Linked DNA regions of Homo sapiens: all the other regions are linked to region 3. The links are contacts of gene promoters, found by promoter capture Hi-C in blood cells and fetal thymus (Javierre and others, 2016). All regions are on one chromosome and are shown on one strand. Each heading gives the region's core, a stretch centred on a gene start or on the middle of the fragment in contact. The rest is flanking DNA. Distances are from core to core; before and after follow the strand shown.

Region 1 (4,089 bases), core at 636-3,135, 340 kb before region 3:
AGGTCTCGCTATGTTGCCCAAGCTTGCTTAGAACTCCTGAACTCAAGCTGTCCTTCTGCCTTGGTTAAATTAGTTTACCATGACTCACCTAAGTTCTTAAAATATTGAAGAACATTAGTCTTATAATCTAGTCAAAGTCAAGACCTGTTCAAATCCAAATGTCTAAAATAAGTTTAGAATTGTCCTTAAACTAAGAAACTAGTAATTGTTCCTGGAGACAGACATTTTCATAGATGCTTCCAACCTATGTAGGAACTATGCTGTAGAAATTCTAGCTTCAGGCCGAGCACAGGCCAAGGTGGGCAGATCACCTGAGGTCAGGAGATCAAGACCATGCTGACCAATATGAAACCCCGTCTCGACTAAAAATACAAAAATTAGCTGGGTGTGATGGCATGCGCCTATAATCCCAGCTACTCAGGAGGCTGAGGCAGGAGAATTGCTTGAACCTGGGAGGCAGAGGTTGCAGTGAGCTGAGATTGTGCCATTGCACTCCAGCCTGGTCAACAAGAGCGAAACTCTTTATCTCAAAAAAAAAAAAAAAATAAATAAATAAATGAATAAAACAGCAGATATTTTACCAGTTTCATCCTTTTTGGGAGACATCCCACTTGGAGCTTTCTGATTTCCTACTCAAATTTGCAGTGCTTAGACAGCTTGCTCTGAGCTTCTGCTCTACAGCATTGACCTTAGGGCCATCCATTCTTCCTCCCATCTTTGCTCTCCCCTTCCATCCTCCTCCCTTCTTTTTCCCTCCTTTCCTCTTCGTCTGTGAGTGTGTGTGTGTGTGTGTGTGTGTGTGTGTGTCTGTTTCTACACCTCCCCTTTCTCCTTCCCTTTTTCTCTGGATGTTCCTTTTTCTTTAGCATCCTTTTCTTGTGTTGCTAATACAGTATTTTCTCTGAGAGTGTCAATGGTAGGTAGTTTTTTGGGGAATTTTTCTTTTTCTTCCAAAATGTCTGTATCTGCTATTTGTTTTTTTCACCTTATATTTGCTTTTGTCTTTTTTTCCATGTTAAAGGCTTTCCTCAAATGATTGGCAATCCGAGGCCGTCTGCTCATGATTAAGAGTGGGGGGGCTAAATCAAAAGCTGTTTGGAAAGCCCTGAGTATATGCTTTCCTCAAATGATTGGCAATCTGTGGCTGTCTGCTCATGATTAAGAGTGGGGGGCTGAATAAAAAGCTGTAAACTATTTGGAACACTCTGAGTACATGGTTGGGTCTGTCAACTCTGAACTTCACTTTTGGGTGATCAGAGTGAGTTGTTTGTTGGGGAGCCCTTAGTTTAGATACTTCCTCTTCATCCTGTCAAATTTCTAATAGAAGAGTATCTTATCTAGAAGTTAAAGGTGAGTTACTAATGTGTTTGGGAAAAGAATGATGGGTTTCTGCATTCACATTTCAGATTAGTTGTCACATAATCCCCTTTTGGGTATGGTATCCATGCCCTCAACCGTTTGGGGTCCCCCAGTTTAGAGCTACTGTTTTATATTTTTATTATAGTATTTATCTCCAGACTTCTTTTGGTGTGGAATAGGGGCAATCTCCTTGATGGATTTCTCAAACAGCCTTCACCCAGTCCTTCCTTCTCTTCCTTGTTTTAAGATCCAGAAGTTCTTGTTGCTAGTTCCTATGCCTTTTGAAGAGTGTAGTGTATATTGAGTTGGTTGCTTAGTTGTGATTTTTAAATTGTTTTTTAAGAGACAGGGTCTTACTCTGTTGCCCAGGCTGATTTTGAATTTTTTTTATTGAAATATTTAAATCATGTTTTTCAGTTATTAAGTAAAACCAGACCCCTGCTTTTTTGCTGTTGATAATGTGTAGCAGTGTGCACCAATTTGATTTGTACATGGCTAAATAGAATTTCTCTTTCACTGAATTTGCTGTCATGTTAGGTTACATAGGCCGCAAAGGATTTATACTGACTGAGTAGGAGAGAGGCAGTGCTGGAAATATCCTGCCAACGTATACGTTTCCTTCTTAGGCTCATATTGGCTTCCCATCTCCTGTTTCCCAGTAGCCTTAGAGTCAGTCATTTCTTGCTTTTTAACTTCTACTCACTGTTGTTACAGATGAGGGCTTGCGGTATCTCATTCTATAGAAGATTCTTTCTTTCTCCCCTAGCTGAAATATGATGGCAGGTTTCAGAGGTTTTCACTGCTAGATAAAGTGATAAAAGTATAAGAGTAATAAAGCAATCCTTGCTTTTGTTTGAAAGAGTGAGGCTTGAGGCTGGGCACGGTGGCTCATGCCTGTAATCCCTGCACTTTGGGAGGCCGAGGCGGGCAGATTGCTTGAGGTCAGGAGTTTGAGACCAGCCCAGCCAACATGGTGAAACCCCACCTCTACTAAAAAATACAAAAATTAGCCGGGTGTGGTGGTGCACACCTGTAATCGCAGCTACCCGGGAGGCTGAGACAGGAGAATTGCTTGAACCTGGGAGGCAGAGGTTGCAGTAAGCCGAGAGATCGCGCCACTGCACCCCAGCCTGGGCGATAGAGCAAGACTCAGTCTCAAAAAAAAAAAGTGAGGCTTTGATTTTTTTTTTTAGTAGTTTCAATCACATCTTCAATTATTTTCTTTTAAACCCCATATACCCTGTTCCATTTTACGTTTCTCCAGCTTCATTCCTGACTAGCAGGATCATTTCACTTTATCCGTGTGAACCTTATACTGTAGTGCTTCTCAACCTTATCAGACCCAGTACCTCCCTTTTTAAGCAAATAATTTGTAATTCTCCCTTTGAGATCCTTAAATAAAATGAATAGATAAAACAATCCACTTAAAAAGTTAAAAAATTAATTGCCCTATTTGTAATATACAGGAGAAACAAAAGGGAAGTCATTTATAATAAAGTAGTATATATTGTAATATTTAAATGTTTGGATATGACATACAGAGATAACATGCCTCCACAAGTTTCTCACTTAATTATTCTCTGCCACAGGGGTATATGGAAAGCTCTGTGAATCCTAATTGATAAGGTATTTGGATGACTACCTGAACAGCTAACTCAGATTTATCCATATTTTAGAGAAAATATCAGAGTCTGTTCTACAGTTTCCTTTTTTTTAACTTAAAAAAAGTGTAATTAGCTTAAAATATACAGATCCTGAGTGTTCAGTTTGATGTTTGAAGAGAGTGAATTTCCATGATGCCAAAAAGTCCCCCTGTATCCCCTTCCAGTTAGTTCTCTCACCATTTTCTGGTTTCTATTTCTGTAGGTTAGTTTTGCCTGTTTCTGAATTTCATATATGTTGAATCATACAATGTGTACTATTCTTTTTGAGGGTGGGGAATGGAGAGAGATCTGGCTGCTTTCACATAACATGTTTTTGAAATTTATCCTGTTTTGTTAATTTATTCTTTATTATTATTCCGTTGTATGAATATACCATAATTTGTTTACCCACTTCTTTTGATGGTTATCTGGGTTGTTTCTGATTTGGGGCTATTAATAGTGATTACTGTGAATAGTCTTATACAAGTATTTCTGTGGGCTTATGTTCTTATTTCTTTTTGAAAACAGTAATTAAATTGCTGGTCATAGTGTAGATACATGTTTATAAGAGACAGTGAAAACAGTCTCCATATTAGTTATACTGTTTTACATTTGTACCAGCAATGAATGAGAGTTCCAGTCATTTAGCGTCCTTGACAACATTTTGTGTTTTCAGTCTTTTTGTTTTTAACCATTCTTATAGGTTCTTCAACTATTTTAAATGTTTTCAGTGTTCTTCCTGGAAATAAGCTTGTGTATTGTTTTCTTTCCCATTTGGGTTTCATCCTTTTCCTTTGTCCTGTGACATTTACTTGTTGTCCATCTGCCAAAATTTTGTTGACACATCTCTTGCCTGTGATCTCTTGTTGTGATCTCTTCTCTTGTTATTTGTCCCTTTTAAAAAACTTTCTTTTTTTTTTTGAGGCAGTCTCGCCCTGTCACCCAGACTGGAGTACAGTGGCACGATCTCAGCTCACAGCAACCTCCACCTCCTGGGTTCAAGCGATTCTCCTGCCTCAGCCTCGCGAGTAGCTGGGACTACAGCTGTGTGCCACCACACTTGGCTAATTTTTTTGTATTTTTAGTA
Region 2 (4,025 bases), core at 126-2,625, 280 kb before region 3:
GACTACAGGCGCCCACCACCATGTCCACCTAGTTTTTGTATTTTTAGTAGAGATGGGGTTTCACCATGTTGGCCAGGCTGGTCTCCAACTCCTGAACTCACGTGATCCACCCAGTTCAGCCTCCCAAAGTGCTGGGATTACAGGCATGAGCCACCACGCGCCTGGCCTGAACAAAAGTTATTACTTTTAATGTAGCTGTATTTATCATTATTCTTTGGTAGTTAATACTTTTTACATCTTATTTAAGAAATCTTTTCCTACTCTAATGTCATGAAAATAGCCTCCCATATGTTCTTCTAAAACTTTGAAGGTTTTCTTTTTTTACACACACAAAAATCAATCCATCTGGAATTGATTTACTTTTTTTTTTTGTATGCTGTGATATAAGGATTTCATTTTTGCTGCATGTTAGGGTTACCAAATTTCCCAGCACTGTTTATTAAATATCTTACCATCTCCTGGTAATCTGCAGTGCTACCACTCATGTCTCCTATAGAGCCTCTGTTCTTTTCCACTGATGCGTTTGCCCATCCACAAGATGTCTTTCCTTAATGTTTTATAGTTTTCTCTAAAAAGAAAAATTTTAAATTTCTCTCACACAACTTATGTTAGGCACTAAATAAAGTTTTTAAGATTATGTTTTATGTTTATGATTGATAAGGTGAATTATTTGGTAATTCTGATTTTATATCCATCTTTCTTGCTAAATTCTAATTTTGTCAATTATAAAGAATGCCAGCTTTGATTATTTTCTAATGCTTGCATATTTTATTTCTGTATATTTACTTCCATTTTAGGTATTTATCCTTTTTCATCCTAACTTACCAGTTTTTGAAAGAGATATATTCACATATTCTGCTGTGATGAAGTATTCAATCTTCTGATTTTAATCATGTTGGTTCTGGTTTATTTTGATGTTATTCTGCTAGTTGTGTAAATGTTCATGAATTTTATATTTTATTTGGTGTTGTAAGATAAAATATATCAGTATCCCATTTAAGTCCATATCCTCTTCAGTGCTTTTCATCTTGACTGGTATATTTTTCCATCCCATAATTTTCAGATTTCTTATGTTGTTTGTTTTTATTGTATCTTTTGTGGCTTTATTATTTATAAATCTACCTGATAGTCTCTGTTGTTTCTGGTAGTATCTGATAGTTTCTTATTTATGTAAGGTTTTTGTTTTCATTTTTCTTTGTATTTGTAATAGTTTATACTAATTTAGTTTTTTCTTGTGAATTAAATAGTGTTATCTTTGAGTAATTCTTTCAACATGGATTGTAATTTGGAAGCTTTCTGTCTTGAATTCTAGTGTTCATTCTTCAGTACTGTTTTTTGGATATTAGAATTCTGTGTTTCAAGTCACTTGAAAATTCAGAGCATTGTTTTTTTGGCATCTGGTCTTGCAGCTGAGAAATCTGAAGTTAATCTTTTATTCCTTTTTGGTAGTTTCTTTATGGAAGCTTTTGGGATCTTGACATCCTTAGTTAGAAATTTCATCACAAGGTGCCTAATGTGATTCCTTTTTCATTATTTTTACTTCATACTTTGAAGGCACTTCTCAATGGAAGAAATGAGTTATAAACTGTGTGTGAATCTGTAGCTCTTTGTGTTTGAGGGAGTTTGCCTTTTTAGATGTTGGGGGCTACCTGTTTTGTTACCAGAGGGTTACCTGAGGTGATATTCAATTCCTGTTCTTTGACCTGAGGGTAAAAAATGGGATCTCAAGTGTTCCAAGATTGGTTCAGCTCTTTTGCCATCTTATTTTAATTTCCTGGTTACTACTGTAAACACCTACCTGCTAGTACTTGCACATGATCACCTCAGGATTAGTTTGGAGTTGTGCTGAAAACAAAAACAAAACCCCTCCAGCTCAAGATTTTTTTTTTTTATACCTTTCTTCTTGTTTAAGAGCTACACCTTTTGGCTCCATGTTTTTTTAAAATCCTAGTTCTTGCATTAAATAATTGAATCTCAAAAGGGGCTAAATAAGGGAGTGATGTGTAAGAAGTTAGAGTTAGTCCCACCACAGACCTAGAAAGAACCAGTCGTGATGGATCTATAAGTGCTGTACATAGGCGCTAGTGAAGGTATGCCTTTCAACCTTTTTTTTTTTTTAAAGTAAATAGGGTTAGATGAAGTACTTTAGTCATATATAACAAATGTCACTGCAGAAGGTACAGATTTCATTCATTTTCTAAGTGCTAATTGAAAAGAATTCATATTTACATTTTAAAGTCCCTGGTTTTTTTTTTTTTCTCGTTTATTTTTAGCTTCCAGGGAAAAAGACAACTAAACTTTGGGTTCCAGATGAAGAAGTATCTCCTGAGACAATGGTCAAAGTGAGTAATGTGCATAGATCTATTGATTTTAATATAATCACCACATTGTAATATTTGAGGTATTAAAATTTCTATTTCTATTGGAAAGATATTAAAGTCACTCAAGTATTTACATTTATTGTATGATGTCTTATGTGCTGTGAGACTATAGGGTAATAATGAGAAAGCTGGGATTTTGTGGACAGCTGCACATAATCTAATTTGAGGAGAAAAAAAGGTTTGAAAGCTGTTTCCCTGATGGCAAAAGGCAGTGCTAGTTTTTATGGACTTTCCTCTGTTCTGTAAAGATGATAGTTCAGATTTTAAGCCTATTCATCTTTTCCATGGGATTTAATAAAACTTTTTATTTTTAAAAAATTCAGCCTATAATTTATTGAATTAGGAGTTTTATAAGATTGCTCATCATTGGTATAGACTCTTGATTTATTAAAACCATCTATGGCCTGTAGTGTAGACCTCATGTCAATCCACTACCAAGATATGAAGGCCAAAAATACATACATTAAATATTGTTATTTTCTAGCTGTAATTTCTTATAAACCCTTTCAGTCTGTGTGTGTGTGTGTGTGTGTGTGTGTGTGTGTGTGTGTGTGTATTTGTTTATAGTTCGTATTACGAACTACCTTTTCACATTGTTCTAGCTGGAGGTTATGATACTAGTTTTGCAGACTTGTACAATAGCCCCACCTTTACATCAATGAATGATGCTTGATACTTTGAGTCTCAGTATAAACCTGTTTTTCTCGGCATTGGTCTCAAGCTGCAGTTTTTGTATACTTGAAAGCAGCACTGGACTAGAAGGTAGGCCACTTACCAACTTACCAGTTGGTAGGCATACTTACCAACTGGCCAGGAAAGAGATCTTCCGTCTTTGCCGTGAGCCAGACACTATCGAAGACCCTCTTAGCATCTGAGCCTTAGCTCTGTAAAAAGCTGAGCTAATATGTGAAAGATAATTTGTACATCATTTTAAAAAGAGGTAATATGTACTTCTTCAAAAGAATTCTTGGAAACATTAAAGGAAGTAATGGGTGTAAAAATACTTTAAATACTTCATAATCATAAAATGTAGAACAAATATGAGTGGTATCATTTTTTAGGCAGAAAAGATTAAATGTAATTTGTAGTTGGGAACTTAACTTTTCTGATTAGAGAGGTTAAGCATGATTTTACTGTATGTTCTACAGGATCAAATATATGTTGGGGAAACATTTTAAAACAGCAAAGAACAAACTAGTCTTTAGTCAAATCATTCTTTTGCCATTTTCTTGGATGTTTGAAACATCTTTAAAACATTCGAGATTATCTTCATATATACAGAAAAGAATTTTTTCTTTTCTTAAAAAGCATCCATTAAATACATTTTATTTTTAAAAAAAGTTGATACAGAAATTCTTTCAAAATGTACCAGTGTTTTATTTGTCGACTTGTCTCTTAAATAGATTCAGGCTATTAAAATGATGGTTCGATGGCTACTTGGAATGAAAAATAATCACAGTAAATCAGGAACTTCTACCTTAAGATTGCTAACAACAATATTGCATAGTGATGGAGACTTGACAGAACAGGGGAAAATTAGGTATGCAATTACTATTTCACAGTTCTTTGGATTGCATAATATTTCAGCTCTTGGTGTAACTGTTCAATGGTGCTGTTTCTTTTTCTTTTTTTTTTAAATTAGAA
Region 3 (3,996 bases), core at 527-3,026:
CTCCATGTAGACGTAGCTTTTTAAATTTAGCTGGAAGACAGCGTGACAGTGAAGTTGTGTGCTGTAATTTTTTAAAATTGCTGAAGTGTCATGGTTTGCTATTTCGTATTTATTGAAAAAATGTAAATGCTATATTTAACAGAATGGCAGTAACTCTGTTTCAATCTGAAGACTTAATCTTACTAATCATGGTAATATATGCTGGCTGGAGTTGGGAATATTTCATAAAATACTGGAATAAATTTGTGCTTATATTTCAGGGGAATTAATAAAAGCACCTTCATCTGCAACATTTAAAATGTTATTGCCTTTAAATTTGTATTAAATAATGCAGGGAAGATAGATCACTGGGGGAGAATGGATGCACCTCTGTGAGGATCTTGGTCATTCAACACACGTGTACGGGTGAGGAAACTAAGGCACGACTTACTGGGTAGGGAGGTAGGGATATTAGCAAGATCCTTCACTTGTCTGGGCTTTCTGTCTTTGAGTCACCTTTGCGCAGTTTTTCACTGGACTTCACAAGCCTCTGAGGCGGCAGGGCAGACAGGACATCCTTATTTTATAGAGGAGGAAACTTAGGCTTACAGAGGTTTCCTGCCCCAAATCACAAAGGTGGAGCCTAGACCTTCTCAGTCTCCACCAACTGTATTTCGGTTAGCCACAATCCTATCTACCCACATCCAAATGGACACTGTGGCTCTGCAACTTCTGTCAAAAGGGCTCTTTGGCAACAGGAAAAACGTCATGGCTCCATTGTATTGTAGAGGATGGGAATGGGTGTTCCGGCTAAATTCTCCCTCCCCTTTCCCTCCACAGCTCAGATGGCAAATGTGCGACCCAGGGACCTCCCGCTCCAGCAGACCTGTGCGCACAACTTTGCACAGATTACCTGCTAAGTCAGAGCCGAAAGGTAACACAGATGCCAAAGGATAATAAAGGTGAATGAGATTTACTCAAAATTGGAAACTTGGTGTTTGGTTTTTCAGGAGAACAATCAACGACTGTGATTTGAAGTTCACCAGGGTATTCTGAGAGATCTAATCAAAGATAGAGTGCTGGTTTGAAATTATTAAAAGGTAACAGTAAAAGGGAGAGCAAAACCCCAGTCCCAACGCAACCCATAAATCTACTTTGTCTTCCTCGAAAGAGGGGCGCGGGTGGGCGCGTCTCCCCGCGAGCATCTCACCTAAGGGGGAATCCCTTTCAGCGCACGGCGAAGTTCCCCCTCGGCTGTCCCACCTGGCAGTCCCTCTAGGATTTCGGCCAGTCCCTAATTGGCTCCAGCAATGTCCAGCCGGAGCTTCTTTGGGCCTCCGAGTGGGAGAAAAGTGAGAGCAGGTGCTTCCCCAGCGGCGCGCTCCGCTAGGGCCCGGCAGGATCCCGCCCCCAAGTCGGGGAAAGTTGGTCGGCGCCTTTTCTCCCCGACGAAGCCGCTCCAGGGCTGCTCTCAGAGGACGCGCGGCAGGCAAAGAGAATGAACCTGAGCGTCCACGAAACGTCCTGCACGGCTCCCGGGAGCTGGGAGAAACAGGTGCCTTTCTCCGACGTCCGCGGGCGACGCCTGCCGCACCTTGCCCGCTGCCGCGCCCCTCCCGGGCACCCCTCGCCCTCGGCGCCCCTGCCCCCGCCCCCAGTGCCAGGGCGGAGGCAGTCCCGGCTCGCAGGTAATTATTGCCAGCGGAGCCCGCCGGGGAGCGGGGGTGGGCGCGCCGGCGGTGGGCGGGCGGGCGCGGCGGGGCGCGGGCATAAAGGGGCGCGGCGCGGGGCCCCGGAGCCTGGCTCCCGCGCAGCATGCCCGCCAGCGCCCCGCCGCGCCGCCCGCGGCCGCCGCCGCCGTCGCTGTCGCTGCTGCTGGTGCTGCTGGGCCTGGGCGGCCGCCGCCTGCGTGCGGAGCCGGGCGACGGCGCGCAGACCTGGGCCCGTTTCTCGCGGCCTCCTGCCCCCGAGGCCGCGGGCCTCTTCCAGGGCACCTTCCCCGACGGCTTCCTCTGGGCCGTGGGCAGCGCCGCCTACCAGACCGAGGGCGGCTGGCAGCAGCACGGCAAGGGTGCGTCCATCTGGGATACGTTCACCCACCACCCCCTGGCACCCCCGGGAGACTCCCGGAACGCCAGTCTGCCGTTGGGCGCCCCGTCGCCGCTGCAGCCCGCCACCGGGGACGTAGCCAGCGACAGCTACAACAACGTCTTCCGCGACACGGAGGCGCTGCGCGAGCTCGGGGTCACTCACTACCGCTTCTCCATCTCGTGGGCGCGAGTGCTCCCCAATGGCAGCGCGGGCGTCCCCAACCGCGAGGGGCTGCGCTACTACCGGCGCCTGCTGGAGCGGCTGCGGGAGCTGGGCGTGCAGCCCGTGGTCACCCTGTACCACTGGGACCTGCCCCAGCGCCTGCAGGACGCCTACGGCGGCTGGGCCAACCGCGCCCTGGCCGACCACTTCAGGGATTACGCGGAGCTCTGCTTCCGCCACTTCGGCGGTCAGGTCAAGTACTGGATCACCATCGACAACCCCTACGTGGTGGCCTGGCACGGCTACGCCACCGGGCGCCTGGCCCCCGGCATCCGGGGCAGCCCGCGGCTCGGGTACCTGGTGGCGCACAACCTCCTCCTGGTGAGTGCGAGGGGCCAGGCGGAGGGCCACGCAGGGGAGACAGAGGGCCTCCACAGGGGCCAGGGGGAAGTGTGGGAACTGAGTCTCCCCCAGACGAGGCTTCACTTGGACACGTGTATGTGGTCACCGGGGGAAACTGAGCAGTTCTGACTTCCCTTGGAAGGCGTGGAATTAGGAGAGAAATCCCTTAGTGGGCACACGAGTGAGTGCCCCTTGGAGTCCATCTGTGGAAAGGAAGCGGTGATAGGTTTCCGCAGTGAGGAAAGAAACTCCTTTCTCTGGGTGTAGAGGAATTCCTAGAGGTGAGGGCGGGGAGGATTTGCTAGGAGTAACTGCAGGAAGAGAATGAGCAGGGTGGATGAAAGAAACACGTTTGTTCTTAAGCCGCACAGATAGCATTACTCTCTGGAGCTGTCACGAGTTCAGTGTTAATCCAATAAGATCTGTCTTGCTTGTGGCACAAGTTCACACTGTTGTGAAAGTGTCAAAACACAACTCCCGGAGAGTCAGATTTAAACTGTGTTTGGAGGTCCCTTCTGCGGCAGGGCAGGGAACTGCATCCACCAATCTTATTCACCGGGGTGTGAAGACCGCTTTATACAATCTCAAACAAAGCTAGTCATAGAAACACAGAAACAACTGCAGGGTGATATAGATTGTTCTACCACATCTATATTTCCACAGTGCTCTCTACAGTTGAAAGGGTTCCTCACTTATGACATTGTTAGCCTGATAAAATTAATTGTAACACCCTTGTGCAAAATATTTTATTAATTTTGACAGCAGGAAATATTGCTATGCCATGGTAAAGTTGTCTCAAGTATTTCTTCCTCCTTTTTTCTCCTTAGTGTTCAAATTTAGGCACCATTGTTTTGGGGATTCATTTATAATCATGTCAGTTGTTAGTACACTTTGTACAGAGTTTTGTATCACAATAAAATATTTTATGTACATGTATAAACATTTTAATAAAAGTGTTTAAATGTACAACTTTTGGTACCCAATTCTGATCACTTGTGGGCCTACTGGAAGACTTATTTTTAAATTTAGAATTCAGCCACATATTCTGAACAAAGTCAGTACTAAAACCATTTCTAAACACTTTTAATTAAAGCCATAGATAATATGGGCAGAGCAGTACTGGGTTATTGAGGTGACTTAGTGCTCTGAGCTGCTGGTAATGTTGTAATAATGGCTAAATTAGATTTTATGTCAGTTCCACAAAACCTGTTTGCTGCTACTGGCCATAAAAGAATGTTGGATTTGTTTGGAAACACATTGTGATTTTTGTGATTTCATACTTATGTATGTCTTTTCATAAGGATGTTTTAGAGCGGTGATTCTTATACTTTTTCAATCCTTTTATGGATCTGAAAAACTCTA

What was found. Contacts are between HindIII fragments. The CHiCAGO score rates a contact against its expected background, and 5 or more counts as called.
Region 1: a fragment that was not itself captured here is called in contact with the fragment with the promoter of KL in region 3 in 1 of 17 cell types (M2 macrophages); the score reaches 5.1 in M2 macrophages.
Region 2: a contact is called between a fragment that was not itself captured here and the fragment with the promoter of KL in region 3, in 1 of 17 cell types (M1 macrophages). The highest score is 5.1, in M1 macrophages.

Annotation. Positions count from the first base shown.
Region 1 is chr13:32,679,110-32,683,198 of GRCh38, forward strand. All of the region lies in intron 10 of PDS5B (PDS5 cohesin associated factor B), which reads left to right. Among named protein-coding and RNA genes, the nearest start is that of PDS5B, 95 kb to the left of the region's middle. The HindIII fragment of the contact is 3,730 bases long and covers 21-3,750 here.
Region 2 is chr13:32,738,807-32,742,831 of GRCh38, forward strand. PDS5B (PDS5 cohesin associated factor B) reads left to right here. Exons shown (of 35, transcript NM_015032.4): 22 at 2,274-2,342; 23 at 3,785-3,921. Among named protein-coding and RNA genes, the nearest start is that of PDS5B, 150 kb to the left of the region's middle. The HindIII fragment of the contact is 171 bases long and covers 1,291-1,461 here.
Region 3 is chr13:33,014,647-33,018,642 of GRCh38, forward strand. It overlaps KL (klotho), which reads left to right and starts at 1,777. Exons shown (of 5, transcript NM_004795.4): 1 at 1,777-2,613. The coding sequence starts at 1,795. It overlaps LOC124903151 (translation initiation factor IF-2-like), which reads right to left and starts at 1,807. Exons shown (of 2, transcript XM_047430819.1): 1 at 1,190-1,807. The coding sequence starts at 1,796. RefSeq lists enhancers at 1,381-1,956, 1,957-2,534, 2,743-2,802 and silencers at 1,813-1,882, 2,573-2,672. The HindIII fragment of the contact is 5,190 bases long and covers 1-3,996 here.